Linked DNA regions of Homo sapiens: regions 2, 3, 4, 5 and 6 are each linked to region 1. The links are contacts of gene promoters, found by promoter capture Hi-C in blood cells and fetal thymus (Javierre and others, 2016). All regions are on one chromosome and are shown on one strand. The core of a region is centred on a gene start or on the middle of the fragment in contact, and the rest is flanking DNA. Distances in the headings are between cores, read along the strand shown.

Region 1 (2,724 bases), core at 196-2,695:
ATGAGATGATAAATAATGCCCATTTCTCAGTTCACATCAAGGACTCAATGAAGGCCAACCGTTACAGTTCTTGTGTTATTATTTATGCTCTTTGTCCCCACAAAATCCTTTAAGACCTCAACTCAGTAGGTGTCTAAAACTTTGCCAGATTCTCTATACAAAAACGCTAGACCAAGGGCAGGTGAGAAGGGGACTACTTTAGTCTGAACTGCCATGAAAGGCCGCTTTAAAGAAGTGACATTTGAGCAGAGCCAACAAGATGTGAAAGGGTCTTGCAGAGATCTGAGGATAGTGTCTGAGGCTGAATGAACTGTAAAGGTGAAGGCTGAGGGGTAGGAAAGAACTCTGCGTGATCAGATTGATATGTCTGAAGGGCTGAGCCAGGGAGGAAAGGAAGGAAACAAGGACAGAGGTGGTCAGCCATAGTGGACCTGTGTCTGAAGCGCTGAGCCAGGGAGGAAAGGAAGGAAACAAGGACAGAGGTGGTCAGCCATAGTGGACCGGGTAGGGACTTGCAGGCCAAGGCTGAGTTCGGATGATGTGTGTGACGGGAGTCCCTGGAGTGGAACTTCATCCATCCTTCAAGCAATTATTAAGCAGCTTTCAGAGGCCTGACACTTTAGCAGTGGAAAGCTGCAGAAGGGCTAACTAGAAGTGGGGCATCGTATGTGATTGGTTAGGCTGAGCACGTATGGCTTTCTCTGCTTGGTCCTCTTTTGGAGGCGGAGGCAAAAATTAGAACAGTCAGTTACAAATCAAGTCCTATTTGGGGCCTACTGTTCCAGGAGTTACCGTTTAGCCTCCTGAAATGTCACCAGAGAGTAATCTAGCTCCTTGCAAGACTAACTTAAGGCAGACTGGCTTCCAGAGTAGTTTATTGCAGAACAGGAGGCTGGTTTCCTGGGCAGGTTGCTACAAAAAAATTGTACGTCACAGCCCTATAATCGATGTATAGTCTGCCTACTGTCCGCTTCAATATTCAGTCTCTCAGGTACTACCACGACAGGAGATAAACTAAGTGACGAGCCTGCTCCACGTTTCGTAAACAAACAAAACTACAAAGAGGAATCCTGTGGCTGTCTTGGCTTCCGGCCTGCCCAGGAGGCTTCCCCGAACTAGCAGAAAAGCAGCAAGGCCGAAACCTTGTCCACTCACCTGCGCCGGGTCCGTCAAAGCCATCGCCATACCGGGACCCTGTGGCCCTAGCGGGGCGGGGGCTGCGGCGAGCAGGGCGGGTCTCGCGGGCTCAGCCGAGCCCCACCCCTTCCCTGCGCCGGGCCCGGTGACCTTGGCTGACAGTCAAACTCTCTCGTTACGGGGAGGCTCACGGTTCGCTCCGAGACGCGGAGGTCGCTGTCGGCCTCCTACCTGCTCATTTCCCCAGCGCCGCCAGGGAGGCGGCCACGGAACACCGCCCCCTCCCTAGAGCCGGCGTGGACGGAACCGTCGCTCCCAAATTACGTCCCATCCAAATGCCGGAAGTCCCGCCCCAAGCTTCGCAACCCACAGGAAACGCCCCTGTCCTGGACCATCATTGGCCCCAGGGCCCGCCGTCGCACCTGGCAATGCCTTGTAGTTAATGTAGTTTTTCTCTACAAACCACCTGCAAAGGGGACAGATCCTGAGCCGGCAGGCCTCGGTGTAAAAGTCGCAGCGGGCCTACAGCCCGGCTCAGACCTGCCTCTGTCCTGGGGGCACAACTCGGAGGCCAGGGACCAAGCGCGAGACCGTCCATTCTTGGCCGGAGGAAATCGAGCCCCAGGAGTCAGGGACATTTGCCAGGGTCAGGGCCAGTGCAGAGACCCTGGACCAGGCTCCGGACTCTGACTTCCACCTTGCATTATTTCCCCTCCGGATCCTCTTATACAGATCAGCGGGCAGTCAGAGTAACCAAAGGGGGACGTCGGGCGGCGCGATGCCTCAGGCCTGGGATCCCAGCGCATTGGGAGGCCAAGGGGGGCGGATCGCTTGAGCCCAGGAGCTCAAGACCAGCTTGAGCAACATAGGGAGACTACCAAAAAAAAAAAAAATTTTTTTAAAATAAGCTGAGTGTGCTGGCGCACACCTGTGGTCCCAGAAGTCTGTGGCAGGAGGATCGCTTGAGGACAGGAGTTTGAGAACAGTCTGGGCGACAGAGCGAGACCTCATTGGTACCAAAAAAAAAAAAAAAAGAAAAAGAAAAGAAAAAAAATAGAGCGCGGTGGCTCACGCCTGTAATCCCAGCACTTTGGGAGGCCGAGGCGGGTAGATCACGAGATCAGGAGATCGAGACCATCCTGGCTAACACGATGAAACCCCGTCTTTACTAAAAATGCAAAAAATTAGCCGGGCGTGGTGGCTGGCGCCTGTAGTCCCAGCTACTCGGGAGGCTGAGGCAGGAGAATGATGTGAACCCGGGAGGCGGAACTTGCAGTGAGCCGAGATCGCGCCACTGCACTCCAGCCTGGGCGACAGAGTGAGACTCCGTCTCTCTCTCTCTCTCTCTCTCTACTTATATATACATATATTTATATATACATATATACATATATACGTATATATACATATGTATATATACGTATATATATGCACATATATATTTATATATATATTTATATATATATTTTTTGAGACAGGGTCTCGCTCTGTTGCTCAGGCCATAGTGCAGTGGCGCGATCACAGCTCACTGCAGCCTCAAACTCCAGGGTTCAAGTGATCCTCCCACCTCAGCCACCCAAGTAGCTG
Region 2 (2,997 bases), core at 63-2,562, 1.3 Mb before region 1:
GAGGTCTGGAGGTCAAGACCAGTCTGGCCAACATGGTAAAACCCCATCTCTACTAAAAATACAAAAATCAGCCGGGTGTGGTGGAGCAGCCTGCAGTCCCAGCTACTCGGGAGGCTGAGGCAGGAGAATCGCTTGAACCTGGGAGACGGAGGTTGCAGTGAGCCGAGATCGTGCCACTGCACTCCAGTCTGGCAACAGCGAGACTCCGTCAAAAAAAAAAAAAAAAAAAAGAAAGAAAGAAAAAGAAAAACACTGAAATAAAAGCACAAAGTTGGATACAAAACTGCTTAGTGAGCTACAAAGCGATACACTGGACAGAAAGCATTTGCAACCTATCAACCTGTACAGGGTAGCATATAACTGGACAGCATCTGGACTCCTAAGTTTTCCTAACAGTTTTACCTCGGATTCTCCCTGTCTCTCTTCGTGCTGTCATCTTTCTCTAGGTCTTCGAAAACTGTCAATCCATCTTACTGTATCTCTAATTTCTGTCCCTTTTCTCCCTTCTTGTTTCTGTCCCTCTCCCTTCTTGTCTACCTCTTGAGTCTGGATATCTGCATTTCTTGTCTCTGTGAACCCATTCTGCGTTTCCTTCTTTGTGTCTCTTTCATCTGCATCCCTTTCTGATCTGCCTCTCTCTTGCTAACTGTTCTGACACCTGTTTGCCCGGCCCTGACCCTCTGATCCACTCAGCCCTCTTATAACTTGGACCCGTGTCTCTATGTTTGTTCACTTATTTTCACTGTCTCTCCTCGCGTCGAGTCTCCGGTCCTCCCAGTCTGTGAGTCTGTCTCTCTGTCTCTCTCTCTCTTCCTCCCGCCGGTCCTTCGTCTCTCTTTGCCCTTGAGTCTCTGGTCTCTCTCCGTCTCTCCTCGCTGTTTCTATCGATCGGCATCTCTCTGCCCCAGTACCCTTCCCCACCTCTTCATCCCACATGCCCCATTGCATTTTCAACGCCCGCCGCGTCTCCGGGTTACCCAGGCGATGTCGAGTCGTGTCCCCAGGTTACCATGGAGACGTTCAGGGCCCGCCCCTCGCCCATGATCACAGAGGAACGTCATCGCGCCGCGCGCGCACGTACACACGAAGGGCCTGCTGACTACATCTGCCGGAAAGCATCGGGCCAAGCCTTTCTCCATTTTGCGGTCTAGGAAGTAGCAGAGGCCCCTTCCTGTAGGGAGTTGCCATGGAGACGCGGTGGGGCACCGACGGAGTTCTAATGACGGCCGTGATTGGTGCAGGATCCTGCTAATCTCAGGAAGGCCCGTAGAGAAGTGAGGAAAACGTGGTGGGGGGCATGCGCGATCTGGTAGGCGGTGCTGCCGTCTGTTGTACCTGAGAGGCTTGCGCATGCCGACGCACGGATTCGAGGCGGGGAGCATGGGAAGAAGCGGCCAGGAGTATGACCTGATCATTGCGACCACCGCTAGGGGAAGGGAGGAGAGGGTGTAGAAACGGGGACGAGGGTGGGGGAAGGGCAAGGAGGCGCTCGAGCTGGTGCGCGGAGCATCCTGGGAGACGTAGTCCAGCGGGAGGGGGAAGTCGAAGACTGCGCGTGCTCAGGAGCGCGGAGCGGCCCGCTGAGCGCAGAGGTGAGGGCGGGGTCCTCTTAACCGGGAGGGCTATCGTGTGGACGGGGGCGGTGGCTGCAGACTCGGGGATTCCGGCTCCCCAGTGAGACCGGAAGCGCGGGGAACGAATCCGGGCAGTCCTTGCGGGAGCGCCCAGGGCTAGAGCGAGAGGCTTGTCAATCACTACTCGTTGCCACGACGACAGGCTTTGGGAGCCCCGCCCCCGGTTGCCTAGGCGTCGTCTGGACCTACCTTGGCACCCTGGAGCGGAAGTTGCCGCCTGGACTTCTGGGAAGTGTATTTCGGGACCCTCCGTAGGTACCTGCCATCTTGGCTATGACCCAAGTCTCTCCCAGGGTTTCAGGTTGACTTGGCACCTTGAAGAGTGGAGGCTTGGCCCCCAGGATGAGGCGGCCCTCGAAATCGATGCCACCCACGGGGGAATGATTCTGCGGTGCCATCCCCTTCATAAACGCAGATTCCTTCCTAAAGCCGCAGCTGCAGAAGGAACAGCGCGAGGAGGGAGGTCAGCCCCACTTGCAAATGGGGAAACAAGTTCTCGAAGGCACAGTGATCTGAAGATGGGCGGAATCAGAGTCTCGGGACTTCCTTGCAGGCTCCTGTTCCGGCAGTCTTGGAGCCTTTGCCGCCCCCCCACCCATTGCGAAGCTCCCCCATCCCCTTCCAACCCCAGCTAAATCAGGAAGCTGAGATGGGGCATTGCGTAGTGTGATGTTGGGCTTAGAAGATGGGGCTGAGTAGGGAGAGAGGGTGCTGCCTGGGAGCTGAGCCATACAAGTGACTGCACAGGTTGACATGGAGGATTAGGTGGAGTGAGGCTTCCAAGCAGGGAGGGGAATGATGGTGGGGCCCAAATGAGGAGCCACATCGAAGTAGATGAGAGAATAGAAGGTGAAGTAAGGGCTGGCGTTGGGTAGGGGGAGACGCCAGCAGTGATGCTGATGCCCAGGCTGTAGGTGTATAGGTGCCATCCACCTGGTAAAGAGAGAGCTGTAGCGCAGGAATGAGGTTGCACATGTAGAAGAAGGGAAGGATACAGGGGAGAGAAGTGTCTTCTAGTCCTAAAAAACAGCCTGTGGGCTGGCATGGTGGAACAAACCTGTAAGTCCCAGCACTTCGGGAGGTCAAGGTAAGAGGATCATCTGCTTGAGCCCAGGAGTTCAAGAACAGCCTAGGCAACATAGTAAGATCCCATCCCTACAGAAAAATTAAGAAATTAGCCGGATGTCGTGGCACACACCTGTTGTCTCAGCTACTTGGGAGGCCGATCTCTGGAGCCCGGGAGGTCAAGTCTGCAGTGACGCATGATCTCGCCACTGCACTTCAGCCTGGGCAACTGACTGACAGCATGTCTCAAAGAAAAGAAAAAAAAGCCTGTGTTTGGAGCAGGGAGACTGTCAGAGAC
Region 3 (3,114 bases), core at 357-2,856, 1.1 Mb before region 1:
GCCTGGGCAACAAGAGTGAAACCCTGTCTCTAAATAAATAAAAATAAACAAACAAACAAACAAATAAATAAAGGGATATCTGGCCAGGTACGGTGGCTCACGCCTGTAATCCCAGCGCTTTGGGAGGCCGAGGTGGGCAGATCACAAGGTCAGGAGTTCAAGACCAGCCTGGCCAGCATGGTGAAACCCCATCTCTACTAAAAATACAAAAAATTAGCCAGACATGGTGGCAGGCACCTGTAATCCCAGCTACTCAGGAGGCTGAGGCAGGAGAATTGCTTGAACCCAGCAGGCGGAGGTTGCAGTGAGCTGAGATGGCGCCACTGCACTGCAGCCTGGGTGACAGAGAGAGCCTCTGTCTCAAAAAACACCAAAATAAATAAAATAAAATAAGAGGATATCTGCCTTGCACAGAATAGGGAACACAGGACAAAAGGAGAAGAATCTGAGCTCCTGTGCCGAGTGAAGCAGTGATTTACGAGGGTGCCACAAGTGTGTCCATCTCACGCTCTGCATATGATGTTAGCCATCCGGGATTCAGAGTCTAAAGGCTGTGCTGGACAGATCCATCTTTGTTCTGGAAACAATGAGATCTAGGGAGGGGACAGGAGGATTGTGCACTTATCACGTGTGAGGCTGAGAAACCTCACATCACATCACAATGAGGAAAATATTTATTTATTTATTTATTTTTGAGACGGAGTCTCGCTCTGTCGCCCAGGCTGGAGGGCAGTGGCCCAATCCCAGCTTACTGCATCCTCCACCTCACAGGTTCAAGTGATTCTCCTGCCTTAGCCTCCTGAGTAGCTGGGACTACAGGCATGCATCACCATGCCCGGCAATTTTTTTTTTTTTTTTTTTGAGACAGAGTCTCGTTCTGTCGCCCAGGCTGGAGTGCAGTGGCGTGATCTCGGCTCACTGCAAGCTCCGCCTCCCGGGTTCACACCAGTCTCCTGCCGCAGCCTCCCGAGTAGCTGGGACTACAGGCGCCCGCCACCACGCCCAGCTAATTTTTTGTATTTTTAGTAGAGACGGGGTTTCACCGTGTTAGCCAGGATGGTATCGATCTCCTGACCTCGTGATCTGCCCACCTAGGCCTCCCAAAGTGCTGGGATTACAGGCGTGAGCCACCGCGCCCGGCTCCCCCCCCCCGGCCTTCACCCCTCCCTCCCTCTCTCTCTCTTTTCTTTTTTTCCTTTTCTTTTTTTGAAAGAGTTTCACTTTTGTTGCCCAGGCTGGAGTGCAATGGTGCGATCTCGGCTAACTGCAACCTCCATCTCCCGGGTTCAAGTGATTCTCTTGCTTTAGCCTCCTGAGTAGCTGGGATTACAGGCACGCACCACCATGCCTGGCTAATTTTGTATTTTTAGTAGAGACGGGGTTTCTCTATGTTGGTCAGGCTGGTCTCAAACTCCTGACCTCAGGTGATCCATCTGCCTCGGCCTCCCAAAGTGCTGGGATTACAGGCGTGAGCTACCGTGCCCGGCCGTCCTTTGTTTTCACTTGCTATTCAATTGCTTGCTTAGGAGATGAATATTTATATATGCACGTGTGTGTATCTCAGCAAAGTCCACTGTTGTAAGCAGAATAATGGCCCCCTGAAAGATCTGCACGTCCTGTTTCCTAGAACCTCTGACTATGTTACTTCACAAGGCAAAAGAACTGAGTGTGATGAAGTTTTGGATCTTGAGATGGGGAGATTCCTGGATTATGTGTGGTTGGCCTAGTGTGATCACAAGAGGCAGAAGGGTCAGAATCCTATAAGGAGTATAAGGAGATTTGACAACAAACCCAGAAAGAGAGAGATGAACATGTCTTACTGCTGGCTTGAAGATGGAAGAAAGAAAAGTAGGTGGCACCTAGAAGCTGGAAATGGTCAGCAAACGTCCTCCCCAAGAGCTTCTGGAAGGAACCCACACTACTGAAACCTTCACTTAGGACTTACGACCTCCAGAACTCTGAGATAACAAGTTTGCACTGTCTCAAGCCACTATGGGGTGGCAGTTTGTTAAAGCAGCTTTAACAATAGATAACTAATACAGCCACAGTGTAATTTTAAAATAGTAATAGCAGGCGCCAGGCGTTGCTAATGTTCACACTTGCTTGAATGATCTGGGCTGCCTGTCTCCCTACTCAGCTGGTTATACTTACCGTTATCATACCCATTTTGTAGATGAGGCTGCCAGCCTTGAGAGCACCACCGTTACCTGGTTGAAGAGGGGAGGGGAAGTCCAGCATTGGCCTCTGCAGCGTGGATCTCCCGGCCAGGCTCTCAGCTGTCAGGTGAGTCTCACCTCACACCTCTCAGAAGACATGGACAATGGCAGTGAATGGAGCCAGGAGGACCCGGAGTGTCGGCTTGCCACTGAGAAACGGAGGGCAGGAGTAAGTGAGATTTTGGGGAGCTGGCAGCTGAGCAACGGGGGAGTCCCTGTTGCTTGGGGAAGGGGGACCAGGGAGGGCCTTAGCCAGGGGCACAGTGTTTTAGGAGCTAGTGTTGGGGAGGAACGGTGATGGCGGGCAGGCAGAGCCTGGGAAGCTGTTCTCTGGGGTCTGGGTGGTGACAATTTGAAGAGGGGCAGGACGGGCTGCCTATGTCACTCCATTTACCCTTTCGCATCTGCAGAGAGCTGGGGGCCGCCCAGTAGGTGCCAGCTGTGGGGTGGTCGCTCGTTGGCCCAGTTCTCCACTTCTCTCCTCCTGGGAACCGCCAACCTCCATTTCTTCTCTGCTCTTCCAGATCCTACAACCAGAACTCTGCGCCCCAGGATGGAGGCTCCAGCCCAGAAGGCTGGGCAGGGAGGACTCCCCAAGGCCGATGCCCAGGGTGCCTCCGGGGCCCGGGAGAAGAGGCCCGAGGAGCCGAGGCCCCTCGAAGAGGACCGAGCTGGGAGCCGCCCCACTCAAAAGGGGGACCTGCGTGGAGCGGCGGGCGGTAGGACGACTCCCCCAGGCGGGGGCTCCCGGGGCTGCAGCCTCGGGGTGAGCCCCGGCCCGGGGACCCGGCACAGCGCCGGGACCAGACCCCTCGTGCGGGAGCCGTGCGGCCCCACCTCTTCTCAGAACCCTGAGCTGGTTATCCCCGAGGGGCTGCAAGCCCGGGAGGGCCCCTGT
Region 4 (2,778 bases), core at 101-2,600, 1.1 Mb before region 1:
CACCCGCCTCGGCCTCCCAAAGTGCTGGGATTACAGGCGTGAGTCACCTTGCCTAGCCTGTTTCTTCTTTACATAAATGGAAACATACTCTACAGTTTGACACCTTGCTTTTATCTACTTAACTATCTTAGAGCTCTTTCTCACATTAGTATAGTTTGAGGATCCCTAATTCAAAAATCTGAAATCTGAAACACTTCTGGTCCTGAGCATTTTGGATAAGGGATACTCAACCTGTATATAAAGAGTCTTCATTTTTAAGGCTATGATCTCCATTCCACCATAAATGACTTAGCCAGTTCCCCATGGTGGACATGGAGGGTTGTTTCCAAATTCTGACTTTTAAAATCAATAGCATAATGAAAACCATGTACAAACAGTCTGCACACATACAAATATATGTGTAGGATTTATTCCCAGCAAGTTTGCTTAGACAAAGGGTTTATGTATGTGTAATTTAGATAGTGGCTGATAAACTGCCCTCCACAGAAGTTGTATCAATTCACATTCCCACTGTAAATGTATAAGAACCCCTCCAATGCCCCCTTTGAGAAAACTCAAGGCTGGTAAAATACTGGGTGGAGAGCACATTGTTACAATCCTCCTGAAAGTTAATTTAAAGAGCTACATGAAATTCATAGAGAAAATCCTCAAAATAGAGTAAGCACATGTTACAAGACAACTAGAAGGGATTCCAAATTTCTAAACACAAGATAACTATACACATATATATTCCTCTGTGTGTATGTAAAATTTAGTGTACACTATGTATGTGTAGACACACGTGTATATTTTAAGAAAAAGCTGCAAGGAAAATTAGTAAAATCCTAATGGTAAGGACCATCTATGGATGGCTAAAGTATGAGGAATTTTACACAAGTTTTCATTTTTTTTTTACTTTTATGCATTTTCCAAGTTTTGCTACAAAGAACTCGCATTACTTTTATGAACAGAAAAAAACATGTCTTTTCCCTAGTTAACAGTAATTTCCACGGAGGAGTTTCTTATCTGTTTCAAAATATCTACAAGGAAATCAGTAGGAATATCATGCTTAGAAAATGTGAACTGAAATGAGAAACAGAAAATATGCAAAGATCTGAAACACTTCTGGTCCCAAGCATTTCGATAAGGAATATTCAAGCTGTATATAGAGTCTTCATTTTTAATGAATTTTTATGATCACCATTCCACCATAAATGACTTAGCCAGTTCCCCATGGTGGACATGGAGGTTCTTTCCAAATTTTTACTTTTAAAATCAATAGCATAATGAAAACCATGTAGCCTGCACACATATAAATATATATGTAGGATTCATTCCCAGCAGGTTTGGTGAGACAAAGGGTTTATGTATTTGTAATTTAGTGACTGATAAACTGCCCTTCATAGAAGATGTATAAGAACCTTCCCACACCCCCTTTGAGAACTCAAGGCTTGTTGAGTTCCAGTTGATTGCTTCATCCCAGCTTACCACCCTGTGGGGCTGCTATAACCTCAGCCAACCCCATGCCCCCTCAGAGAAGTATCAACTGTGACCCCTTCAGGACTGGCCATTTTGGGGGCCAAGGTGGAGGGAATGAGGCAATCACAGGCCTGACTTCCAGAGCTGTCTAGAACCATGCTGTCATTTTTGGTCCCACTGCTTCAGAGGGGAGGAGCTTTCCTGTCTGGATTCCCAAGCCTGTGCCCCAAACTGCTGGTGGAGCAGAAAGGAGGAATGATCCAGAATAGGGTTTTGGTACCAGACTGTTTGGTTCACACTCTGGCTGGGCCACTTGGTAGCACATTACTTCTCCTCTTAGGGCCATCCTGCACTGTTGGTGGCAGTGGGGATGAAGTAAGCAAATCCGAAATGTTTACATGGCAAAATCAACAGGACCTCTAACTCCATGGAGTGGGGAAGGGGAGAGGTCAAGAAGACTGGTTTTCTGGCTTCCATGATGGGATGGCAAGTGGAAACAGCCTCCAGGAAAGGGATCAGGGAAGCAGAGACTAGTCTGGGTGGAAAATGAGTTTTGTTTGGGGTAGGCTGGGTTTGGGGAGCTTTCGGCACACCTCGGGGAGTTGCCCAGTAGCACACAGCAGTTGTTTGGGTCTGAAGCCCAAATCTCAGAAGCACCAGACTGATTTGGTGGTGAGCAGCACAAAGCTAGGGATGTAGATGACACCTGGGGAGGGCGTGGAGCACAAGGTGGACTCTAGGACCCCAGCATTTAGGAAGGGTGACGGGAGGTTGAGAAGTCCCTGAAGAGTTAGAAGGAACCCCACAATGCAAGGAGATGGAGCTCTGCAAAGAGGTTAGCAGGCTTCACAGTCCTGGGGATGAAGAGAGACGACACCAGAGGTAGTACCTTGGACAGTGGTTGCAGTGGGTTCTGTGAAGCAGTGGGGGCGGACAGCAGGTCTGAGGTGTGAGCTGCCACCAAGGGAATAGGGAGCACAAGCGATTCTCCCAAGAGCTTGAAGGAGAAAAGCAGCAGATACGGCTAGCTGCCTCCATCATCCACCAAGGGAATAGGGAGCACAAGCAATTCTCCCAAGAGCTTGAAGAGAAAAGCAGCAGCTACGGCTAGCTGCCTCCATCATCCACTTCCCAGGACTTTTCTCTCCCACCTGTCTCCACCACAGAGGTTAGAAAGGTAAATACGAGGTTTCTAAGCCCCGTTGTTATTAGGGGTGGCCCCCTGACCCATCTGTGGCCAGTGAGACTAAGGGGGGCATGTGCTGCAGGCTTCTGGGAATGTTTTTCCTTTAAACACCATCAGCGGTAAGTGTTGGCCTG
Region 5 (2,732 bases), core at 38-2,537, 1.0 Mb before region 1:
GTGACAACAGCTATGCTGACATCTTCACTGTAACTTCATGGGCCTGAACCAGAACCACCAGCTAGGACATTCCATTACTCCTGTCAGAACTCGTGAGATATTTATTGTTGTTCCAGGTCACGAAGTTTTGAGTTACACAGCAACAGGTAACTAATACACTTTCTCTCAAGCCTTTCTTACGACTCATTCCTTGTCCCCCATCCACAGCAAGAACAAAATAAAACGTGGTAGCATTTCATGCAAATTTGGAGCAACACACATCTGAAAACCTGCAACCTAAGATTATCAAGTCTCACTTTGTGTACCAAATCTGAAATAATGCAAATCCCCATGAACAAACCAACGACAAAAAATAAAAAAAAGTATAATTTCAAAGTTGCAGAGCTTGAGGAAGGATAATTATTGTTGTTTCCTGCCACGCGAGGCAGCTTTATGGAGAACACAGGCCGCAACCACTTTGTCTAGAAAGTGGAGCTCTGATGGCCAGATGGCCCTGCAAACACTGACCGCCCTGCACTGCAGTTCTCCCACAGTCTCGCAGGGGACGACCCTGGTGGTCACTCTCATCACACTCAGTGCGTGGTGACCCATCATTGCCCCCAAGAGGTTGTGCCCAAGCCCCAGGGCAGGGGCTCCGCGGTGCTGGGGTCCCGGTGGGTGTCCGCTGACTCCACGCGTTAAAGCATCTCTATTCGATGATTCTTGCCATCTGGGCACCCGGCCAACGCTACAATTACTGTTATCAGTCAACACGAGGACAGACCTTCCTGGAATGGGCAAGGGTGTCGGCGGGGCGGAGCAGAACGCAGGAGATGGGCCTGCTCGATTCTCTCGGGAATGACCGACCCCAGCCCTGGGGAGGACAGAGCCGCGTGGAGCATGCGCATTCGGGGGCCAGGCGCCTGGTTGGAATCCCGGCCCCCTCTCTGACCAGCCAGGACGGTCACCACGCCCCGACCCGCGTCTGAGTTTCCCCACGTGTCAAGGGCATTAACAGCGGTGCCGCTCTCATCGCGCCGCGAGGTGAAAGGGTCAGTCTGCGCGGGAGACGCTTGCCCGGAGCCCGCCGCCGTCGTTATTGTTGTTATTGTTACCTGAAGCCGGGCCGCCGGCGGCCCCACAGACATCACTCCCGCTACCCCTTCGTCCTCGGGGTCCATGCTGGATCGCCCAGTGAAGGACAGCGCCTGAGGTGATCCCCAGACCAGAGAGGCACTCCAGCCAAAGGGACCACCCGACTCGCCGAACGCCGGACAATGGCGGCCGCACCGGCGACGCGGCGACTACAACTCCCAGTAGGCCGTGCGGCGAACCACAGCCCTCGGCCAATGGGAGTCTCCGCTGGTCTGGCCTTCGACCAATGGAAGCATTATGGCCGATGGCCAATGGGAGCCCCCACCCGCTGGCCTCTGGCCAATGGGAGCACTCAGCTAAGGCTGGTGGGGGCGGTGTTGCTCGGGGCTGCGATGCCCCTTAGGTTGCGGGCAACCAGAGGCCTCACTCGTGGGCAGGAAGCAAGGGCGGACCCCGAGAGATGACTGATTGTGGGGGTGGGGACCGTCTGCTCCTCCTAATGGCTGGGGACCGTGCACGTCTGCGCGGGCCGGACCTGCTCTTCTCGGGAACTTGCGCGGGAGGAGGCCCGGAGCTGCGCCGCTTTACCCTCTGCTCCCCGGTGCCTAAAACGCACACGCATCAAAGTCACAGGACGAGTTAGAGGTTTGTTCATATAAAAGACTTTGGGCTTAGCGGCTGGAAGCGGGGAGGCTGGGAGCGGTGGTTGTGTTACAGGAAAGGGGTCCGATTCAGACCCCAAGGGAGGGTTCTTGGATCTCGCGCAAGAAAAAATTCAGGGCGAGTCCGCAGTGCAAAGTAAAAGCAAGTTTGTTGAGAAAGTAAAGTTGTGAAACAGCTACCCCATAGACAGTAGGACGTTCCTGAAAGTAAGAGGAACGTATGCACCCTAGGTACAATGCTTGTGTATATTTGGGCTAAAAATAGATTTTGGGGAGATGTGCTCTGCTACAAGGGTTTGTGAAAAAGGATTAATTTTCTTACTGTATTTTTCAAGAATCGATATTATTTTTAAAGCAAAATTAGGAATGCCTTTGTTCTCTAGATACCGGGATATCTGGACACTCCCAAGTCTGGGTCTGTTTTAGTACCCATTATTAATTTGTTCCCTTAACCGTAAACATCTAGAGGTTAGGAATACCTACTTTTCTGGGAATGCAGCCCAGCCTCATTTTCCTAGCCCTCACTCAAAATGGAGTCGCTCTGGGTCGAATGCCTCTGACAGCCCTATTGCTTCTCCCTGTGGGTGTTCACTTTGTGATGTGTCTTTTTCTGTGGGTCTGTTGTAGTCCATTAAAATGTTTATTAAAGGTCGGGCGCGGTGGCTAACGCCTATAATCCCAGCACTTTGGGAAGTCGAGGCGGGTGGATCACGATGTCAGGAGCTCGAGACCAACCTGGCCAATATGGTGAAACCCCGTCTCTACTAAAAATACAAAAATTAGCCCGGCGTGGTGGCGGGCACCTGTAGTCCCAGCTTCTCGGGAGGCTGAGGCAGGAGAATCGCTTGAACCTGGGAGGCGGAGGTTGCCGTGAGCCGAGGTCAGGCCACTGCACTCCAGCCTGGGTGACAGAGCAAGACTCCGTCTCAAAAAAAAAATAAAAAGTTATTAAAAAAGAAAAATGGGGAAGCAGATTTCCATTCAAAAATGTTGCAT
Region 6 (2,727 bases), core at 196-2,695, 1.1 Mb before region 1:
CCCCTGCTACACGTAAGCAAACACTGGGGGACATATCCATAAGCCCAGCTGAATGACCACTAGTCACTCAGTTTCAGCTGCAGACATGGCAAAGCACAAATCCTCTCTCATATGCTTGGTAAACTGTTTGTGGATCACCCAAGTTTTAGTCTCCCTGATAAAAATCTCAGTCAATCAGATATTAACACATATTATCTCAGGTACAGTCTGTCAGCCACAGCCTTCAAAATACCCAGACACAGGAAATATCTCAATGTCACCTATAATCAGTCAAATAAACACAGGCCTGGCCAGGCATGGTGGCTCATGCCTATAATCCCAGCACTTTGGGAGGCCTAGGCAGGTGGATCACCTGAGGTCAGGAGTTCCGGGCCAGCCTAACCAACATGGTGAAAGCCCGTCTCTACCAAAAATACAAAAATTAGCCAAGTGTGGTGGCCGGTGCCTGTAATCCCAGCTACTCGGGAGGCTGACGCAGGATAATCGCTTGAACCCGGGAGATGGAGGTTGCAGTGAGCCGAGATTGCGCCACTGCACTCCAGCCTGGGCAACAGAGCAAGACTCCGTCTCAAAAATAAACACAGGCCCTCGCAGCATTTCCATCACACAGTATTATTCTGATCACAGTCATTCATAATCTTAGTCACCATCTCAAGGACACACAAAGAAAATCAGTCACACTTGAAATCCCACCGTCACACGCTCACCCTCTCACAGTATCTCACAACCCACGTAGGAAGTCTCAAACGGCAACCATCTCTGTCAGTCACACACTCCATGGTTAGTGTTACACTCAACCTATCAGAATCACACACTCCAACCCGTCAGATACACACACCCAAGAGGTGTCAGACACAGAACCGCCTATCAGACACATAAACGGGTCCGCCCCACACCCTCCCAGGCCACTGGTCCTACATTTTATCTGTTATCTGTCCGCCCGCTCCACACTTCGTCCGCCCCACACCCGGTCAATCAGTCCATCCGACACACACTCCGTCAGTCCGACACATTCTCCGTCGGTCCGTCCGGCACTCAGTGTGTCATTCCGCACCACATTCGGTCCGTGAGTCTGTCCACACCGGGTCCGTCAGTCCGTGCACACACGGTCCGTCCACGCCTGGTCCGTCAGTCCGTCACATCCTCTGCGCGTGTGTCCGGCACTCGCAGTCCGTCTACTCACGTCCCCTAGTCAGCCTCTCACTCTCTACCCGCTGGGCGGTACCCCGCATCTCGCTCTGGCCGCCCCAGAGGTTCGCGGCTTCTGGACCTGCTGTGCCCCTCTCCAGCCTGGATCAGGACGGAGAACACCCCCGAAACCCACCTCACCAGCACAGCCGGCGGACCCTTCCGGAGGTGGCCGCAGAGACTAGCCAACTTGCGCGCCCGCCGACCCGGACCACAGCTCCCAGCACACCTCAAGGGCCCACGCCCGCCAGGACTACAATTCCCGGCGTCCTCCGGAAGCTCAAGTGTACCCAGGCGCGGTGCCTGCTGGGAATTGTAGTTGACGTTGGTCAGCACGGAGGCCACAGGATCCCAGCCCGGCCTTTGTGGGACTGAGGTGGCGCTGAGTGGGAGAGCAGCAGGCGATGCGCGAAAGGCGGGACTTGGAGGTGAGGGAAATGTGAAGGCTGAGGGTGAGAGTGCCTGTGTGAGGCTGAGGGTGCCTGTGTGAGGGTGAGGGTGAGGGCGGCTGTGTGAGGGCTGAGGGCTGAGGGTGCCTGTGTGAGAGCTGAGGGTGCCTGTGTGAGGCTGAGGGTGCCTGTGTGAGGCTGAGGGTGAGGGCGGCTGTGTGAGGGCTGAGGGTGCCTGTGTGAGAGCTGAGGGTGCCTGTGTGAGGCTGAGGGTGAGGGCGGCTGTGTGAGGCTGAGGGTGGCTTTGGGAGGGCTGAGGGTGTTTGTGTGAGGGGTGAGGGGTAAGGGTGAGGCAAGAAAATCGGGTCTGGAGGCAGGGAACCTAAGGACTTCCTAGAAGTAAATCAAATGGAAACTGCAGCTATGGTAGGAAATATCCTCTCCATTTATGCAGGGCGTACATGGAGTAAATCACTTTGTAACTTTACTTCGTCCTCTTCATTTACATAGGGCATATACCAAGTAACCAATGGAAACCTCTAGAGGGTATTTAAACCCCAGAAAATTCTGTAACCGGGCTCTTGAGCCCCTATGCTCCGGCCTGCTCCCATACAGTGGAGTGTACTTTCATTTTCAATACATCTCTGCTTTTGTTGCTTCATTCTTTTCTTTGTGCATTTTGTCCAATTATTTGTTCAAGATGCCAAGAACCTGGACACCCTCCACCAGTAACAAGGGTACCTGGGTGAGAGGTGAGGGTGCCCATGTTAGGAGTGAGGGGAGAGGGTGCCTGTCTGAGGGCTTGTGGGTGTGAGTGTCTGTGTAAGTACTGAAGGTGCCTTTGTGAGAGGTGAGCGGTGTGGTTGCCTATGTCAGGGTGTGTATTGAGTGTAGCTATGTGTGGCTCTCTGTGAACACATGTAATCATTTTTATAAATGTGTATCATTTTTTACTGAATTTGAGCTGGGCGTCTGTCTGCATGAGTCACTCTGTGACCAGGTTTGTGGGTTGTTCTGTGTGCTTACTCTGCGTGTGTGTGACCTGTGATTTAATCATCATATGTGATAATCATGCAGCTGTGTTTGCCTGCACCAGGTGTAATTGTGTCTGAGACAGATACTTAGAGGTAATGGGGTGGACCTGACACAG

What was found. Contacts are between HindIII fragments. The CHiCAGO score rates a contact against its expected background, and 5 or more counts as called.
Region 2: the fragment with the promoter of MZF1 here is called in contact with the fragment with the promoter of ZNF805 in region 1 in 1 of 17 cell types (neutrophils); the score reaches 5.4 in neutrophils.
Region 3: a fragment that was not itself captured here is called in contact with the fragment with the promoter of ZNF805 in region 1 in 1 of 17 cell types (neutrophils); the score reaches 5.3 in neutrophils.
Region 4: a contact is called between a fragment that was not itself captured here and the fragment with the promoter of ZNF805 in region 1, in 1 of 17 cell types (neutrophils). The highest score is 9.8, in neutrophils.
Region 5: the fragment with the promoter of ZNF8 here is called in contact with the fragment with the promoter of ZNF805 in region 1 in 1 of 17 cell types (neutrophils); the score reaches 7.2 in neutrophils.
Region 6: the fragment with the promoter of ZSCAN22 here is called in contact with the fragment with the promoter of ZNF805 in region 1 in 3 of 17 cell types (neutrophils, non-activated CD4 T cells and total CD8 T cells); the score reaches 6.4 in neutrophils.

Annotation. Positions count from the first base shown.
Region 1 is chr19:57,239,353-57,242,076 of GRCh38, reverse strand. It overlaps ZNF805 (zinc finger protein 805), which reads right to left and starts at 1,445. Exons shown (of 4, transcript NM_001023563.4): 1 at 1,156-1,445. The coding sequence starts at 1,185. RefSeq lists a silencer at 1,148-1,217 and enhancers at 1,338-1,607, 1,628-1,847. The HindIII fragment of the contact is 2,977 bases long and covers 1-1,496 here.
Region 2 is chr19:58,571,650-58,574,646 of GRCh38, reverse strand. It overlaps MZF1 (myeloid zinc finger 1), which reads left to right and starts at 1,312. Exons shown (of 6, transcript NM_198055.2): 1 at 1,312-1,592. MZF1-AS1 (MZF1 antisense RNA 1) reads right to left here. Exons shown (of 6, transcript NR_027334.2): 4 at 2,692-2,789; 5 at 1,824-2,069; 6 at 1-1,730. RefSeq lists enhancers at 938-1,367, 1,428-1,517, 886-1,745, 1,746-2,607. The HindIII fragment of the contact is 12,442 bases long and covers 1-2,997 here.
Region 3 is chr19:58,368,988-58,372,101 of GRCh38, reverse strand. ZNF837 (zinc finger protein 837) reads left to right here. Exons shown (of 3, transcript NM_138466.2): 2 at 2,174-2,283; 3 at 2,741-3,114. The coding sequence starts at 2,770. It overlaps LOC124904788 (a long non-coding RNA gene), which reads right to left and starts at 2,295. Exons shown (of 2, transcript XR_007067364.1): 1 at 2,208-2,295. The HindIII fragment of the contact is 6,674 bases long and covers 1-3,114 here.
Region 4 is chr19:58,300,407-58,303,184 of GRCh38, reverse strand. ZNF8 (zinc finger protein 8) reads right to left here. Exons shown (of 4, transcript NM_021089.3): 4 at 394-2,778. All of the region lies in intron 4 of ZNF8-ERVK3-1 (ZNF8-ERVK3-1 readthrough (NMD candidate)), which reads right to left. Among named protein-coding and RNA genes, the nearest start is that of ERVK3-1, 3.6 kb to the left of the region's middle. The HindIII fragment of the contact is 9,060 bases long and covers 1-2,778 here.
Region 5 is chr19:58,277,510-58,280,241 of GRCh38, reverse strand. ZNF8 (zinc finger protein 8) reads right to left here and starts at 1,287. Exons shown (of 4, transcript NM_021089.3): 1 at 1,095-1,287. The coding sequence starts at 1,160. It overlaps ZNF8-DT (ZNF8 divergent transcript), which reads left to right and starts at 1,500. Exons shown (of 3, transcript NR_187495.1): 1 at 1,500-1,719. It overlaps ZNF8-ERVK3-1 (ZNF8-ERVK3-1 readthrough (NMD candidate)), which reads right to left and starts at 1,276. Exons shown (of 7, transcript NR_144447.1): 1 at 1-1,276. RefSeq lists enhancers at 692-741, 1,162-1,211. The HindIII fragment of the contact is 22,069 bases long and covers 1-2,732 here.
Region 6 is chr19:58,325,712-58,328,438 of GRCh38, reverse strand. ZSCAN22 (zinc finger and SCAN domain containing 22) reads right to left here and starts at 1,445. Exons shown (of 3, transcript NM_181846.3): 1 at 1,325-1,445. LOC105372480 (a long non-coding RNA gene) reads left to right here and starts at 1,191. Exons shown (of 3, transcript NR_144444.1): 1 at 1,191-1,616. RefSeq lists enhancers at 1,145-1,474, 818-1,560. The HindIII fragment of the contact is 13,061 bases long and covers 1-2,727 here.